Linked DNA regions of Homo sapiens: region 2 is linked to region 1. Evidence: promoter capture Hi-C in 16 types of primary human blood cells and fetal thymus (Javierre and others, 2016). All regions are on one chromosome and are shown on one strand. Each heading gives the region's core, a stretch centred on a gene start or on the middle of the fragment in contact. The rest is flanking DNA. Distances are from core to core; before and after follow the strand shown.

Region 1 (3,747 bases), core at 377-2,876:
AAATGCCACCATTCATGTACTGCATAACAGTGTTTCAGTCAAAGAAGAACCTCATTTCTGGCAGTGGAATCATAAGATTATAATGGAGCTGGAAAATTCCTGTCTCCTAGTATTTACTATACTATGCTTTTTATCTTTAGGTTAAAGTGCATTCTTTCTACCTATATAAAAAAGTTAACTGTAAAACAGCCTCAGGCAGGTCCTTCAGGAGGTGTTACAGAAGGTGCTGTTATCATAGGAGATAGCTCCATACGTGTTATTGCCTCTGAAGACCTTTCAGTGGGACAAGATGTGAAGGTGGAAGACAGTGATATTGATGATCCTGACCCCGTGTAGGTCTAGGCTAATGTGTGTGTGTTTGTCTTAATTTTTAACAAAAATGTTTAAAAAGTAAAAAGTAAATAATTTCAAAAATAGAAAAAGCTTATAGACTAAGTATATAAAGAAAGAAATATTTTTGTACAGCTATATAGTGTGTTTGTGTTTTAAGCTAAGTGTTATTAAAGAGTCAAAAAGTCACAAAAAAAGAAGTTTATAAGTTTAAAAAGTTACAGTAAGCTAAGGTCAATTTATTCTTGAAGAATGAAAATATATGAAAATAAATTTAGTGTTGCCTAAGTGCACAGTGTTGATAAAAGGTACAGTACTGCATAGTTGCGTCCCAGGCCTTCACATTCAACTCCCCACTCACTCACTGACTCACTCAGGGCAACTTCCAGTCCTGTAAGCTCCATTCATGGTAAGTGCCCTATAGAAGCATACCATTTTTTATCTTTGATTTTTTTTTTAATGGAATGCTTCAGAAATTCATGTGTCAACCTTGCTCAGGGGCTGTGCTAATCTCTGTATTGTTCAAATTGTCCTAGATGTGTTGCCAAAGCAATCACTTTTACACTGTTTTTGCTGTAGCTTTTCTATGTTTACATATATTTGTACACACAAATACCACTGTGTTACAATTGCCTACAGTATTTAGTACAGTGACATGCTGTACATCTTTGCAGCCTGGGAGCAATAGGTTACACCAAGTAGCCCAGGTGTGTAGTAGGCTACACCATCTGGGTTTGTGTAAGTACACTCTATGATGTTTGCACAACCACAGATATCACAGGGTCACCTAACGAGGCATTTCTCAGAAGTAGTCTTCATTAAGCTACCCTACGACTGTAATGAAACGCTAAGTTTTGAGCCAGGAATTTGTGTATAGAACACTAGGAATGGCTTCATTAGTATCATGCATCTTTTTCATTAAACTGTGAGTCCCTTTGAGAGAAAGATTGTGTCTCTGAACTTAGTGGCCTAAATTTCTAGAATTATGTCTTCAAAAAGTTGCCCAGTTAGGCGTCTCTGGGGAGTCAAAACCACAACTCCCAGAATGCCGTGCTCCCTTAGCGCGCTCAGGCGCGGGGAGAGAATGTCCCATCACCCACCGCGCCAGATCGAGACCACAGTTCCCACTACACCCAGGGACTCCGCGGAAAGCTATCAAACACCACCTGTTGCCATAGCATCCGGGTCGGGTGAACCAATCCGGGCGCCCTCGCCGAACAGAGGCGGGCAGTTCGCATCGCCGACCAACCTGAGGCGTTTTTGTTGTGGCGCGTGACCGGAGGAGGCGGGAGCTCAGGACCGGCGCCTTCTCCTTGCTTCTGGGGGTCGTGGCCTTGCTCCCGCTGTGCGGGAAAAGAATCCAGGCCCTTCCACGCGCGTGTGGGTGCGGGGGCCCCGAAGTGCTCGTGGTTCCCCGCTAGGTCTCCGCTGGGGCAGGAACCGGAATCATGGGTGGGACCACCAGCACCCGCCGGGTCACCTTCGAGGCGGACGAGAATGAGAACATCACCGTGGTGAAGGGCATCCGGGTGAGTGCCCGTGGACGGGCGGAGGGCCAGTGGTTGGACTCGGACCCCAAGGCCCCATCTTCTCCGGACCCGCTCAGCCTGGGTTTCTCCCGTCCTGGACCCTAGCGTATTAAGGCCAGAAGCCCAGGTGTCTGGGAAGAAGCCTAGAGTTTCAAGACGTGGGACATTCATTCAGAGATAGTTCCTGGTTGTGCCAAGTGCTAGGCACTGCTGGGGCGGGCGGGGAATGCCAGGTTGAATTATACCCTGCAAGGGCTCACAGTCTACTCGTAACTGTACTGCTCCCTTGTTGCAGGACCGTATTTGAAACCCATACCTCGGTGTACTTGTCTGTGAAATGGTTTTCCTGGGTTCAGGACCCAAACCCTGCTTTTCCACTGTGCACACCCTGTCTCCCAGGGTGAATTGGCATTTTAAGGATTGCCTTTGCTTTGTGTCATTTAGTGCTCTCCCTCTGATAACACCCCCTCCTCCCACCCACTCCCCACACCCTGTCATCCTCCCTCCCAGCCCCACAGTCTTTTCTGACCTGCCTGGGGCGGCTTCTGGCTTCTCCCTGCTTCACTTTCACTTGATATCTCCTCTTTCCCAGGCGCCTCCTCTGTGACCTGCTGCGCCGAAGTTTTGGATTAGGCCCAGTTGCTTCAGGACTAGTGTCTGCCAGTCTGATAGGGGCTGAGATGGGTTTGCAGTTTTTCATACCAGTAGAAGTAATGTAGTCATTTCTGACCAACGTTGTAGAGCACTTTTTTTTTAATGCCCTTTGCATGCACCTGATACATAAACTGAAAACCTGGTTTTTCTCTAGGGTGTCAGTATACCAGCACTAACTTCATTAACACACTCTCCGCTGCGCCTGAATTTGGAGCCTCACATTTTTGGACGTATGATGCCTGAACCTAGTAAATAAAGCAATTTTGACTTCAGAAAGTTTTATAATAATTTATATATTTTTTTCTGTTATCAACCAGCGTAAATAAATTACATTTGTAAATTATTTTTAACAGTTGTTACCAGGAAATAAAACTTCTTAAATATTTAAAATGTTTAAAAACTTTTTCTTCTGAAACTGTTACCTTGAGAATAATTTATTAAACTTTTCTTCATAGAAACTCAGACTGTCGAACTCAGTTTTTGGTCTGTGACCAGTATTTCTTTATATCATGCTAATTAATGGTAGTACTACATTTTGTAATAAAATATCTGAGGCTGTATTCTTTGAGTTATTGTGTTTCAGTTAGTACTCTTTGGAGTAAAAAATTACTGTAAACTTTAAGTTTTATGCAGAGATTTTAAGACTCTTGCCATTAGGCTTTCAGTACGCAACTCAGAGTGAAAAATAATTAAAAGACAAAGCAAAATAAGTTTTGAGTGAGAAGACATTGGTTAGAAAAAAATGTATAAATCCATATTCTCGTGCTTTAGTACAGACACAGTGCTAACAGCAAACAAAATCGAAAGAGAATGTGGCCACAGCACAGAGATTCATATCAAGTATTAGATAAGGTTGGATGGAATAACTGTGACAGCAGGGATAGGTATTCTATTAAAATGGAAAAATTGTCTAAAAAACCTTTTTAAGATTTTTGTTTTTTAAAAAGAAATGTCCTTTGGTCATATAACTTGACAGCATTCCTCATTTTTTTCCTTTCTTATATAGTACATTTTACCTGTATTGCTAACAGTTCAAGCATGATCATTTTTACCTCTATGCTTTTCTTCAGAATATACCCTTCACCTGGAATGCCCTTGCGCTGGTCTCCATTGCTTCAAATCCTCCTTTTACATGAATGTTTTGCAATCTCTCTGAGCTTCAGTTTTCCCATCTGCAAAATAATGCAACTGAGTACATCCCTCAGATCTCTAATATTTTCCAGTCCTGAAATCC
Region 2 (3,747 bases), core at 523-3,022, 430 kb after region 1:
CTTACAACTCCGAGCTCCTCTGTTTTGAGATGAAGGGAATGAGGTTTTTTACTGAGAGGGGAATCTATTGGAGAATTCTCCTTCCTTAAGGGAAGGTTCTGGGGTGCACCATCAAGCCTGATGAACCAGCTGCTATAGTTTTCTATCCTCTCAGAACTGGGTAGTGCAGTTTGCAGCCTGAGCCTCGGCCGGCCCTGGGTGAGTTGCTGGTGTTGGGATCTTAGCAGGAGAGGAAGCAGACAAGAGGAGCCCAGCACGGAAGCTTGTGAGCCGGAAGAGGCAATAGCATCTGCCAAGTTGATAAAGAGTAATGTGCGGATCTTGAAATCGCTGAAAGTGCAGAGGGAGGGGCCCTCCGAGAGGGAGAGAGAGCACAATGTCCCACCAGGGAAGCCGCAGCACTTCCTCTCTGGTTTGATTCCCGTTATGCATGTCAGACAGACTTACTCAGAGAAAGAAGGGGGTGGAGGGGAGTAGAAAATCAATTGTTTTTCATAATTATTGATCTCTTTCAATGAATCGCTGTGGTAATGGAGTGGGAGGGGATGGAGGAGAAAGGGTCAGCCCCAAAGGGTGAGTAGCCATCCATTTCGGCACTAGGAGTGTCAGGAGCCCACCGAGGGTGCTGGGCAAGAAACTGCCACTGTGTCCCCAAGACGCTGTGGGAGGAGCAAGGCTCAAGTCTACCCAGGGTTGGGGGAAGGGCCTGAACATGCTTGTTTAAATATTTGGGGTTGGAGATTCATCCAGATGAGTTGGAGTTCTCCACCTCTGTGTTAGAAAATAATACACATCTAATTGCAGAAAAGATGGCTATAGAAAAGAGTACTGTAGTAGAAAGGTATGTAATTTCACGAGAGCATTGCAAACATTCCAATGTTTTCTCCACATATGGTTTATGTACTTATGATAGAACTTACATGTACAATATCATATCTTGCTTTGTTTGCTTATCAATAAGTTGCATTTGCTACACTATTAAAAGCTCTTTAGAACATCCTTTAAATAGGACTTTTTTTGGTATAAAATAACAAATGACCATTACAGAGAATTTGGAAATATGCAAAAAATATAAAACATAAGTAAAAGTATTCAAAATTTTACCACCTAGAAATGACTCCTGTTGATAATTTAGTATATTTCATTCTAAGCTGTTTTCTATACATGTATACATAATGTATTTACCTCCATGAAATTTTGATCATGATGTATATATATTTTTCATATTCTATTTTTTCACTTATGTGACCAAATAATTTTTAAAAACATGATTTTTAATGTTCGTGTAATGTTCCATCATATGTGCTCAGCAGTTTTTATTGTATTGATCCTATTACTTCCAGTGTTTGGGTTATAATAAACAACACAGTGATGGCTTCTTTACATCTATCTTTAACCTCTTCTCTCGGTACCTAGAAAATACTATTTTCGTGGAGATGGAGCTGGATTTCCCCTCAGCTTCAGGTAGAAACTCCACTTCCCCTGGCCTGCTGAAGCTTGGCCCATGCAAATTTCTAAACTTGGCTCAGAACCTGCTGAAAGCCTCTAGTGGTGGTTGTCCCTCACTGACAACCCTCAATTTTTTTTTTCAGTTTAGCGTTTTTCTAGAGCTTTCTGTCTAATACAGTAATACATATGTGGCTCTTCAGATTCAAACTAACTCAAATCAAACAAAATTAGAAACTCAGTTTCTTGGTCACACTAACTACATTTCAGGTGCTCCAGAGACACACACATGGCTCATGGCTACCATATTGGACATAAAGTCACAGAGCATTTCCATTGTGGCAGAAAATTCTATGGGAAGGTTACTCTGGGCACTTCTGATTGACTTGTCTGGGGGGGTCTCTCCAAGTTTTTGGGGCTGTCAGTCTCTACTTGCAATCCCCTTCCACCATCTTCTCAGGCAGACCCATGTTTCAGACTTCTCTTTTTCTGCTTGTACCTAATTTTTGCACCTAAGATGGAGCTTAGAGCAGGTTCTTTTTGTCTCTGGGTGAGTAAGAATTTACCCAGAGATCTGAATGATAAAAGCATAAGTAAGCTTTTCTAGTGCTACCTCCTCAGACTCAATGAGGAAGAAAATGGATATTCCTAGCCAAAAAAGGAAGTTAGCAGAGGTGGCATCTCACCTCTCCAGGCTGGGGATAGCTCAGCTGACAGAAGGGGTGAGCTGTTGTTCCTATAGTCACTGCTCTTAGAGAGCTGGAGCCTTTCTCCTTAGCACAAGGGAGGGCTAGAGCTGCTGTCAGTGTCTTCCAGGCAGGTTTCACAGCAGCAGCTTGGGCAGAGCAAGGCCATCAGTCACCACTTCCCCTTTATATAGGACTGGCCAGGTGTCATCAGACTCTGATAGCACGTAGCAAGCAAGCAGGGACTGAGGGCCCTGGCACGTCGAGGGAGACCAGGTGTTCAGGAGTGAGCAAGTCACTTAAACACACCAGGATGTTGAGAAGCATAGGGCGGGACACAAGTGACACACCAGCACTTGTGAAAAACATAGCTCCAAGCCATTTACATTCACATTTCAACCATGGTGCGAGGATCCAAATTCAGACTGTTGTGGTCTAAGCAGATGGCATCAGCCAGGTGTATAGAAAGGCCTACAGGCTTTAATTACTTGGGGGGCGTATTAGTCTGTTCTCATGCTGCTAATAAAGACATAGCTAAGAATGGGTAATTTATAAAGGGAAGAGGTTTAATAAACTCACCATTCCACCTCACCATTGTGAGGGGAGGCCTCACAATCATGGTGGAAAATGAAGGAGGAACAAAGTCATATCTTACATGGTGGCAAGCAAGAGAGAGCATGTGCAGGGGAACTCCACTGTATAAAACCATCAGATCTTGTGAAACTTATTCACTATCCCAAAAACATCATGGGAAAGATCCGCCCCCAAGATTGAGTTACCTCCCACTGGGTCCCTCCCATGACATGTGGGAATTGTGGGAGCTACAATTCAGAATGAGATTTGGGTTGGGACACAGCCAAACCATATTGGGGGACAGTCTAGTGGCCAAAGAAAGTCTAATTACAAAGTGAGATTTGTTTGAGAGGCAGATTCTAGACCCCAGAAGAGATTGGCTCCTCCCAAGACAGGTTCTTATCCCTTGTCCACTGCTTCTTTTCAGAAGACAGCAGCACTGTGGGGAAGGAAATGGAGATTGCTTGCCCAAGAGGAAGTGAAGAAAGGAGACATTCTCCAGGACTCAGGTTAGCTCCTAGAGTCTTAGCTCTGTCGAAGTGAGAGCAAGAGCCAAGTTTGTCCTGCTCAGTGACCAGTCCTCAGGGCAGGCACATGGTAGATGCTCCATAATTTTTGTTAAATGAATGAATAACAATGATTTTACAATTTGAATTTATCTGGCCTTAATCAATCTCAACATGCCCCCAAAGGGCAAGTGTATTTCAGGGAAGATAATAAGATTTGGGACCAGAGATGGCTTTCCCTCACATTCTTTCTTAGTATTTTAAATTTTAGTATATATATTTAATAAGTGTATTAATAAATATATGTAGAGTCTATATAACAAGGTAACAAATAAAGCATACTAATGAAACACACACTGCTGAAGCCACCACCCAAATTAAAAATCAGAGTTTTACCAATAAGATAGATGCTCTCTGCATTCTCCTCCTCCAACAGACTCCACGGCCCTGCTCTTCCATAAAAATAACCACTATTTTGAATTTTATGCTTATCATTCCCTGAACTTTTAAAGTATAGTTTCACCTCCTCATCTGTG

The links. Contacts are between HindIII fragments. The CHiCAGO score rates a contact against its expected background, and 5 or more counts as called.
Region 2: a fragment that was not itself captured here is called in contact with the fragment with the promoter of CHCHD3 in region 1 in 1 of 17 cell types (non-activated CD4 T cells); the score reaches 5.9 in non-activated CD4 T cells.

What each region holds. Positions count from the first base shown.
Region 1 is chr7:133,079,969-133,083,715 of GRCh38, reverse strand. CHCHD3 (coiled-coil-helix-coiled-coil-helix domain containing 3) reads left to right here and starts at 1,626. Exons shown (of 8, transcript NM_017812.4): 1 at 1,626-1,859. The coding sequence starts at 1,779. It also overlaps the pseudogene RNU6-92P. RefSeq lists enhancers at 1,344-1,453, 1,664-1,843, 1,259-1,893. The HindIII fragment of the contact is 4,501 bases long and covers 426-3,747 here.
Region 2 is chr7:132,652,131-132,655,877 of GRCh38, reverse strand. The region is part of intron 1 of FLJ40288 (Putative uncharacterized protein FLJ40288); the gene reads right to left. Among named protein-coding and RNA genes, the nearest start is that of FLJ40288, 5.2 kb to the right of the region's middle. The HindIII fragment of the contact is 548 bases long and covers 1,499-2,046 here.